Regions from separate parts of the Homo sapiens genome. Here all the other regions are linked to region 3. Evidence: promoter capture Hi-C in human tissues and cell types (Jung and others, 2019). All regions are on one chromosome and are shown on one strand. Each heading gives the region's core, a stretch centred on a gene start or on the middle of the fragment in contact. The rest is flanking DNA. Distances are from core to core; before and after follow the strand shown.

Region 1 (3,175 bases), core at 46-2,545, 43 kb after region 3:
TTTTATTTTAGAAATATTATTTTAATGTAGATTTTCTGCCTTTTATCCTGCTTCTTTCAATTAATTCTAATTAGTGTTATGGTATTTTATAATAGAGACATTAGAATTTAAAGGATTTTAGTGTTCATCTTAATACAGTATTTCCATAAAATGTATAATGAGAACTGCTCACTGGTGTCATGCTGAGGGTGGGGAATTCTGTTATTAGGAAAGTTTGGAAATGATTGGGTAACAAATTTAAGCAAGGTTCCTTATAACAGGCTTTGTACTGTAACCCTCCTACTCATACTCCACATGAAGTAAGTGTGAGAGCATATAAAGTCATATAAAGTCAGAGTACTTTATAGGACCACAAGGTGCAGATTGCACCTTGGGGGACTACTGATCCAGACAACTGCCTGATAAAGAAAGTGGAGGAACTAAGAGTTGACCCCTTATGGTGCTTGAGTCCTCATTTAATAACATTAAGGCCAGGTGCAGTGGCTCACACCTGTAATCCCAGCACTTTGGGAGGCTGAGGTAGGAGGACTGCTTGAGCACAGAAGTTCTAGACCAGCCTTGGAAACATAAAAAGACTTCATCTCTACAAAAAATAAAATGTTAGCCTGGCATGGTGGTGCACACCTGTAGTCCCAGCTACTTGGGAGGCTGAGGTGGGAGGGTCGCTTGAGCTTGGGAAGCTGAGGCTGCAGTGAGTCATGATCATGCCACTGCTGCCTGGGTGGGAGAGTGAGGCCCTGTCTCAAAAAACAAACAAAAAACCCAATAACATTACTTTATGGTGTTCCTTTTTACTAGTTTCCTGTTTTCAGGAAAGTTACACTGTAATAGGGAAGGCCATCACATGTATTGGTGAGCATAATGGAAAATGTGATTGAATGCCAGGAGGAAACCAGCTACACTTAACTTGCAAGATGTGATTAGGCTAAGCAATAAAGAAAGGAAATCGTTTCATGAAAGAAGTGATTTTTGAACCGTGATTTTTGCACTGCACCTTAAAGAATGAGAATGTAGGCATACAGGTAGTTTACAGGGTTGGAGGGCAAGAGGTGTCTCTAAATAATAAACACTTAATGTCAGGGATTTGGACAGGCTGGGATGATGGGTCAGTTTCCATTTCTTCATCTCAAAGATGTGCTCAGTGCGGAAAGCTTCTTGGAAAGCTCCCCTCTCAACCCCACCCCACTCCAGAAGGAGTCCTTTGTAGCCCAGCATGCCTGACTTGGGAGGGAGGTGTGGCATCAGGGATAAAGTTGGACACAGTTGTCCAGTCAGCTGGCAGGTAGTTCACCATTTGTCTTCTGTGTTGAATGTCTCTTCTAGATCCAAGCTTAAGAGAGGAAGAGGGATGTTATGAGCCCCTCTGCCCAATCCCAGCACACTACATATCTGCAAGTACTTTAGAAGAGCCCGAGTCTGCTGGCATGGGGGCTGCCTTCTACACACCCATGCTGTTTCAGATCCCTGTTTCCATCACAGGCTCCCATTTCCACAAAAACGTGGCAGATGTAGTGGGTATGTGGTTGGGCTCTGGAGTAGCATTGCATAGGGTCGCATTGTTACTGGCCAGGTTTCAGTTTTCTTATCTGTGAAGTGGGCATTTTTAAAAGTACCTACCCCATACAATGTTTGTGAGCATTATTGTGTGATAATGCATCTGAAGTGCGTGGCACATGGCTGACATAATAACGGATTAGCCATTATTATTGCTATCATTACTCTATCAGGGCACAATGGTTTTAAAGCTGCATAAATACAATTGTTAGAAGAATGGACTCTCCCAGCATCCAGAAGATTCTAGAACATTTGGGGGAGGCGGAGCTATCCAAGATCTTTTGATTGATGGTGGTGATGAGGAGTAAAGCAAAGGGAAGACTGCATGTTTGGGCGGTGTGGGGAAACACCAAGAGAAACATCTGTGTGTTGGGGGTTGTGTAGGGTGGGAGCTTGTGTAGGAAAGTTTTAAAATAGTATGTAGTGGTATTGGATATGTGTGTTTGTCATGAACCATCAAAGGAGCAAAAAGAAGAAAAACTGTGTTTTGCCAGAATAATGCCCGTGTGTATAATTATTCTTTATATTTTACATATTTGTGCAAAATATCACACACAATGATTGTGCATGTCATTGACTATATCAGATTCACTTCGCTGTGAACGTTGTTTGGTTTAACAGCCGCTTCTATAAATGCAGTTTCAATCGGCTATGTATCCTGCAGCTTAGCATGATGAGTAGGGCATCTAAACAAATATTTATCAAGTGGTTTTACAGGAGATACTGCTAATGCCCTGGGTCCCTGGACCCCTTTCATCATCTCTGTGCTCTCCCCACTTGGCTTCAGTGTGCCTTTGCCTTCCTCGGCCAGCACCTTCAGAGGATTGCCTTCAGGCTAGTGGAACTGCCTTGCCTTTTGGTGCGGAGAACAGGAAGCTCCTACATTCCACCATTGCCCCCAGGACCCCTCAGCCAACAGTTGGCATGGGGTTATGAAAGCCTAGCACCTTTGCCCGAGTGGGGAAAAATTCCGAGGCATAATTTATACTCCAGAGTTCCTCCTGAAGCTTGCTCCACGGTAGAATACCTAAAATTGCCGCCCTGCTTCCATCGCTCCCTCCCGCCCTGCTCCCTGACTCCCTTACTCTTTAATAAATGATTTGCAGCTGACTCCTTATGGCTAGGTCTGTTCCTGGGGAAACTGAATTGAAACCACTGAATATATGTCAGATTCTGTCCTAAAACCGGGGTAAACAACTCATTTAATTCTCACAACACTGGAAGGTGGTTATTATTACCCTTATTTCGTGGAGAAGGAAACTGACTTGAGTAAACGAGGAGCATCATGTACTTAGAGATTGTTAGAGTTTCATTGCTTTGCCTACTTTCCTGCCGTCCTGGCCCACTGATGTCTTATTTAACAGGGTTACATTATCTTTTGAAGTACAGCCACCATCCTAGGGTAGTTTATTGGAACAAACAAGACCACATTTTAAAATTATTACCCATATAAAGCTCGTCACTGATTAAAGGTCTCACAACAATTCTCTTTACTTCAGAATGTAGAAGACAATTTAGAGAAGCGGTTATAAAACAATTTTAGTGTAGGAAAAAAAGTTACTGGAATACTGGAATGACTAGGAAGAAGGCCACTGCATTTAATAAGACCTCAGTGAGACCA
Region 2 (3,285 bases), core at 638-3,137, 53 kb before region 3:
AACTTAGATGCACATTTCCCAGACAATAATCTGGAAGATGCAGTATTGGCAAAGCTTCTATGTGATTCTGATGATTGATCTGGCTGAATGAATCAGTACAGTGCCAATCAGGGTTCTCAGCTTTAGCACTGCAGACACTTTAGGATGGATAATTTTTGTTGGGCCAGGGAGGGAATTGTCCTGTACACTGGGGATGTATAGCAGCATCATGGCCTCTACCCACTAGATGCCATCTTTGCTCTCAGTTGTGACAACCAAAAATGTTTCCCAGAAATTGCCAAATGTCTCCTGAGGGGCAATAATGCCTCTAGCTGAGAAGTATAGTTGCAGATTAAATCTAGACCTTGAGCTGCCAGAGAACAGAAACCGTATTTTATTCATGTCTATAACCCCAGCACTCAGGAGAATGCAATAAGTAAGTGGCTGTGGAGTGAACAAATGAATGAGCAACATAAATGAATGAATACCACCCATCCTGTCTTATAGAACAAGTGTTCTCAAACTTCATGATTTTTAAATTGCCAGAAAAAATTGTATGTAGTTATTATGCACAATTTGATATTTTAAAGTATGTATACATTGTAGATTGACTAAATATAACTAACTAACATATGCACTACCTCACACAGTTATTTTTCTGGTGAGAACACCAAACATCTATCCTCTTACAATTTTCAAAAATACAATACATTGTTGTTAACTATAGTCACCATGTCATACAATAGATCTCTTGAATATATTCCTTCTACCTAACTGAAAATGTTGTGTTCTTTGACCATCTCCCCAACCCCCTAACCTCTCTGTTCTTAATGATCAGTAGAGTTTTCGTTAAAACACAGATTCTCAATCCCACTCCCAGAGAGTCATTGAATAGACATGAGGTGGGATACAGTCATCTGCATTTTAACAAACACCACAGTGATTCCTCAACCAAAATCTGAGAAAGCCCTACAGTACTAAGAAGTATTTGAGGCAAAAATTCAGACTACAGTACTAAATCAGACTACAGTACTAAGAAGTATTTGAGGCAAAAATTTACACTTATTATTTTTACACTTATTAGAAAGTCTCTAGCCATTTTTATCCACCCTATTCAGCCAGCATGTGTAATTTCAGGGACAAGTAAACAAATATTTGGCTCTTCTACAGATCCAAGAATTTGCTTTAAAAACATTCAGCTTAACCTGCAACTGTCCATTACAATACCATTTACCGTGGCGATGTTTACTTTGGAATAAAAATCAGCAGAATGTCAGCTTGGACCTCAGTCTGGCATCTTTTAGTAAGAGCTCTGGGTACAGCCATTGACCAGATTCTGTAATCAGAGCAAGTTCTTGAAGTAGGTTCTGTCTCTGCTTCAGTTCCTCTTTTCAGAACTTATTGAATGGAGCCTTTCGATTTCAGAGGCAGATTTCGATCCAGGTGACTGCAGACCCCGGTTTCTATGGTGGGTACTTCATAGCATTGAAGGGTCAGGGAAACCACTTTAAATAGAAGGATTTTAATGATTACCTATTTATTTTTTTAAATTCCAGTAAATTCTGAGTAACTAACAAAGGCTTTATTTCTTAATATATGCCACTGTCAAGGGACTCCTTGACAAAATGTGTAAATATTTACACATTTTGGTTTGGTTTAATAATTTTCCTACAAGACAGAATGCTTTGGTCAGAGGCTTGTTTTTTTTTTTTTTTTTTTTTTTTTTATTTATTCCTGTAAAGTTCTTTTTGGAAAAGTTTCCATCTCATTTGTGTAGGGAATAAGAATTATTTGCCCACACATCCAGAAATCTTTTGGAGAAGAAAGGGCGTATTGAGCACTTCACAGACTCACTGGTCACAGAATATTCTAAAAGTAACAGATCAAGGATTCACAGAGTTAGATGCCATCTGGGAACTATTACCCTAGCAATGAAAGGGACCTATAGAAGTAAGTAATGCTGATTTGCTCTAATAGTGACGTCATCTGTATTAAGAAAAGATGTGTTCATGATATGTATATGGTTTGGAGCTATCACTTTGCACAATTGTAAGAAGCACCATCCATGTGGTTGGCAGCCGTATTCTGTCTCTCTCAGGGCAGTCTAGCTTAGAAATGTGCCTCCCCGGAGGCTGCAGTGAGCTGAGATCGTGCCACTGCACTCCAGCCTGGGCAACAGAGTGGGACTCTGTCTCAAAAAAAAAAGAAAGAAAAAGAAAAAAAAGAAAAAAGAAAGGTTTGTGCCTCCCTCTGGAGTGGAGAGTAGCCACTGAATATTTTGCTGGCTACAATCTGGGGCCTCTCCAGGGGTGATATTCAAAATACCTAACAATAGTTAATAATAAGTATGATAATATAAATTAATACATAAATCAAATATTTCAACAATTTTTTTCTGTTCTCGAAATCAACTAAACAATAGAGCATACAATGGATTACCAAGCAATATAAATGGTGCAAAATATTCATCAGCATATCATGATATTTTTGAAAAGATGTGATGAATTTTAAATATTGCAGGTATGATCTTTTGTTTGATCTAACTGTCACAGATGAAATAATGCCTCCAAGTCACAGTTTGGTGAAGGGATTGCATCAGACTCTCCCACAACTTCCCTACCAAACTGATCATCATTTGGTCCCTGGCTTCTGACTCTCATTACAGCCAGTGTCAGTGGGCATGTTGCCTGCTCATCACAGCCAGCTACACACCTGATGCCAGTGCTTTCCACATGATATGCACTCAGAGGGTCTGTATCCCAGACCCTGCCAATAATGGCATCCACTGCCCATATCACCAATCCCTCTGACTGGGCTGTCACACGGCAATGCTGGCTGTCGCTGGAGCAGTAGGCAAGACCTACACACCCCTTCTTGCTGCTGTTACCTTGATCCACTCGGTGCCTGCCAGGGGCTGCTCCCAGGCCCAGTTACCTGACTCTGCAGTTGGGCAGCATCATCAAGTGGCTTGTAGGTTCAGTAACTAAGAAATTGCACTTCCTGATGGAGGTGCTTAACCCTCTCAAACCCTCTATTGATCAAATAGCAATTACATTAAGGATTATCTTGCCCATAAAAGACTGCCTGAGACCTTAATATATTCAATATCTTTATTATTACCTAGGTCACAATGTAACAGGAGGCCCATTTATTAAAGGACAGAGTGATACTCTAATACCATCAGCTTGAATTAATTAGTTGACATTAGAAATTATGTTATTAAGAATATTTCTGCTATCGCTATATTATTTACAACTGGCACAGAATTGATTTAAGAGTTTAGCAACTTGTCCAGGGACTTTCCGA
Region 3 (2,963 bases), core at 281-2,780:
TGGGCGAACCGCCTGTCTCCACCGGCTCCTCTGGGCAGGAGGCTCCAGCCTGGGGGTGCCTGACAGCTCTCCTTCCCCGGCGCCTGTATTATACATGTAACATTTATATTTCTATCCACACAGCGTTCATTCAGCCATCCATTCAATCACCCAGGCATATTTACACGGATGGAACACATTCGCGGAGAGATGTGTGTGTTTGAGTTCCAATCACTGCAGCCCGTATTGGCGCGGCGCTTTGTCTCGCTTTGGGTCACCACCACAGGAGCAACGATTTCGGGGACGGCACACGCCTGTGTGACCGCTTCCCACTCCACTTGGGTTCCGTGAGCGCGCGGAGCCGGAGGAGTCAGGGACGTGAGGATGCCCTACTTCCCGCAGCATCCGGATGGCAGGGTCTGCGTCGGAAGGCCCGGGAGGGCGACGCCCTCCACTGCTGCCGCGGGGTGGGTGCGCCAGGCCTGGGTGTGGCCTCACGGGAGCGAGTTTCTCTCCAGCCGCCTGGCCCACCGCTTTGGAACAGTGAAGCTCGAGTTGGGGTCTCCTGCACGCCAAGGGGAGAAATGTTTGTTTCTGACAACACAAGCAAAATTCTCTCTCCTGCACGCCAAGGGGAGAAATGTTTGTTTCTAACAACACAAGCAAAATTCTCTCTCTCTCTCCCTCTCTCTCTCTCTTCTCTCCTCTCTCTTTCTCCCTCCTCCTCCTTTCTTTCTTTCTCTTTTTCTTTCTTTCTTTCTTTCTTCCTCCTCCTCCTCTCTCTCTCTCTATCTCTCTCTCCACCCCCCCCCCCTCATATTTGGTTGTTTCCCCTCTAAGGGGCCACTTTCAATATCTGCCTGTGAGCCCAGCTGTCTGGCCCTATGTAGCATTGGGGAGACAGTAGACTTAACCCAGCGAAGTTTTCTTCTGTTTGCTCTTGCTGTGCCCAAGTTTCCTCTGGACTTGTCTTCCAGCGTCGGGGTGGGGGCTGGGGGAAGTAGGCAACCTAGCTCTGCCTGGTTGCTCCCTGGAAGCCAAGTCGAAGTGAACAAGTCAGTCCCAGGCCCGGAAATAGAATACAAACCCTCTTTTTGTCCGGTGCTAACAGAGTCCAGCAGTCAGAACTCCCTCGCGTCTCACGCTGGACCTGACCCGGGGCGCCGCCAAGTGCGCAACGCACAGTCACAGTTGGTGACTAATTAAGGACTGCCGCCCCTCTCCTTCACCTGCTACAAACTCAGAGCCCTGACTTCTCCAGAAGTACCTACCACTTGGAGGTGGCTCTCCTTCCCCGCCCCCTGCCCCAGTCCCACACCGCAGCAGCGCCTCAGCACCGCGACTTGCCGGAGCACCGCGAGTGGCGCGCGGGTCCCGCCTCCCCCGCGCGCCGTGACTCCCTGCGCACCGCTGGTACTCTCGCCACGCCGCCGCCCGGCACTGCAGCACCAGGGGGAGGAGGCAGGCGGAGGAGAGGAGGAGGACCGCAGCGTGCAAGCCGGGAGCCACTTTCCCGCCCCTCCTCTCGCCGCTGACACGCTCAGAGGAGTCACCACTCCGCGCGCTGCAGGCGAGAGTGGCAGACGGAGGCAGCCCGGGGAAGCGAGCCGGAGCGGCGCCCGCACTGAGGCGGCTGCAGTGCTGACACCACTCAGGGCAAGGGTGTCCGACGGCTGGAGCGGTGAGTGGGGGAGGTGAAGCGGGCATCCGCGGGGAGACTTTCCCCCGCTGCTGGATTTCTCTTCCCGACTGGTGGCCGGGCGCTGCAGCCTGGGGAAGTTTTTGCAGCCTTTCGGAAGCGCAACTTTGCCCCGCCTGCCCCCGGGGAAGCGGCTGCAGGTGCCCGCTGCTTTGTAGGCGCCTTTGTTGGAGAGGGACCAGGAAAGTAGGGGTAAAATAGATGCAGTGACCCCAGGGTTCGCTAGGGTAGGTCTGGGGACTGGGTCGCACTTTATCTGGGATTCCCAGAGGAGGTGGGTGGGCAGCAGCGGGGATGCAGGGGCCGCATCTGCAGCGACCGCCACGCTCTTTTTTGCTTGTGTGGTTTGACCGGCAGGGATAGGCAGATTCAAATCTAGCAGCCTAGAGCCCCGGGCTGGGTACCTGGACCTATACCTTCATAGCTGCCTTAGGCTCAACTTTTCGGCGGGGATCCCTCTGCAGACGTGCAGGTGGCGGGAGAGCAGAGGTAGCCGCAGTAAGTGCTGAGAGAGCCTGAAAGAAACACCATGAATTTTCAAACTCTCCCACATACATTCCCGAAGCGCCTGTCTGGCGTCTAAGAGAGAGCAAGAGAGGGCTGGAGAGCAGGGGAGCCCGCGGGGCTGAGGCTCTTTGTCAGCGCCTGCACTTCCTACGTTACAACGCCTTCATTCAGCAAAAACCTTTTGGGCGCCTGCTGTGCGCCAGGCCAGGCGAAGCAGACCCGAGGCTGTGAAGCTCAGAGGGGAGAGGGACCAATCGCAGTAAATAAGCTACCGAGGTAATCTTAGATGGCGATGAGGGCAGCAAAAGCCATCAGCCGACCCTCTGACCCTTTCTCTTAGTGGGCTTTTCCCCTTCCGCCTGGGTTCTAGAACTGGGAAGACTTTTCTCCAGAGCGTCGCGGGGAGCGCCCCGGGCTGGGCCCACGGGGACTGCGGAATACGGGGATGAACTTGGCTTGGGGCAGCCAGCACCCCACGGCAGATGAACAATCGGGAGCAGATCTGTGGGCGTGCGGGGACCTTAGGCGGCGCGCGGGGGCGGGGGGAGGGGCTGAGCCACGGGGGCTAGAGGTGCCGCCTGGACGGCCTGAGCTGGGGGCGCTCGCGTCACCTTCTACGTGTGCGAGTGATGCAAATGCAGACCCGCGAGGGGCGGGCGGGGGTGGCGGGCGGGGGCAGGCGACGGAGTCTCCGTCTGGGAGCGCGCGTGTGTGCGTCAAAAGCTCTGGGTTGATGGATGCCCCGCGGCGCGCCTGGCGCGGAGAGCGGCGACCCGGC

What was found. The method cuts DNA at HindIII sites, captures the fragments that hold promoters and counts their contacts. A contact is called where the count stands out against the background at its distance.
Region 1: a contact is called between a fragment that was not itself captured here and the fragment with the promoter of SV2C in region 3, in 3 of the 25 tissues and cell types used here (adrenal gland, dorsolateral prefrontal cortex and stomach).
Region 2: a contact is called between a fragment that was not itself captured here and the fragment with the promoter of SV2C in region 3, in 1 of the 25 tissues and cell types used here (small bowel).

The regions. Positions count from the first base shown.
Region 1 is chr5:76,125,308-76,128,482 of GRCh38, forward strand. The region is part of intron 1 of SV2C (synaptic vesicle glycoprotein 2C); the gene reads left to right. Among named protein-coding and RNA genes, the nearest start is that of SV2C-AS1, 43 kb to the left of the region's middle. The HindIII fragment of the contact is 3,228 bases long and covers 1-2,909 here.
Region 2 is chr5:76,028,588-76,031,872 of GRCh38, forward strand. It overlaps a transcript of SV2C not described here. Among named protein-coding and RNA genes, the nearest start is that of SV2C, 53 kb to the right of the region's middle. The HindIII fragment of the contact is 5,569 bases long and covers 1-3,285 here.
Region 3 is chr5:76,081,853-76,084,815 of GRCh38, forward strand. SV2C (synaptic vesicle glycoprotein 2C) reads left to right here and starts at 1,531. Exons shown (of 13, transcript NM_014979.4): 1 at 1,531-1,660. SV2C-AS1 (SV2C antisense RNA 1) reads right to left here and starts at 1,565. Exons shown (of 2, transcript NR_183290.1): 1 at 1,067-1,565; 2 at 1-544. RefSeq lists an enhancer at 342-895. The HindIII fragment of the contact is 16,764 bases long and covers 1-2,963 here.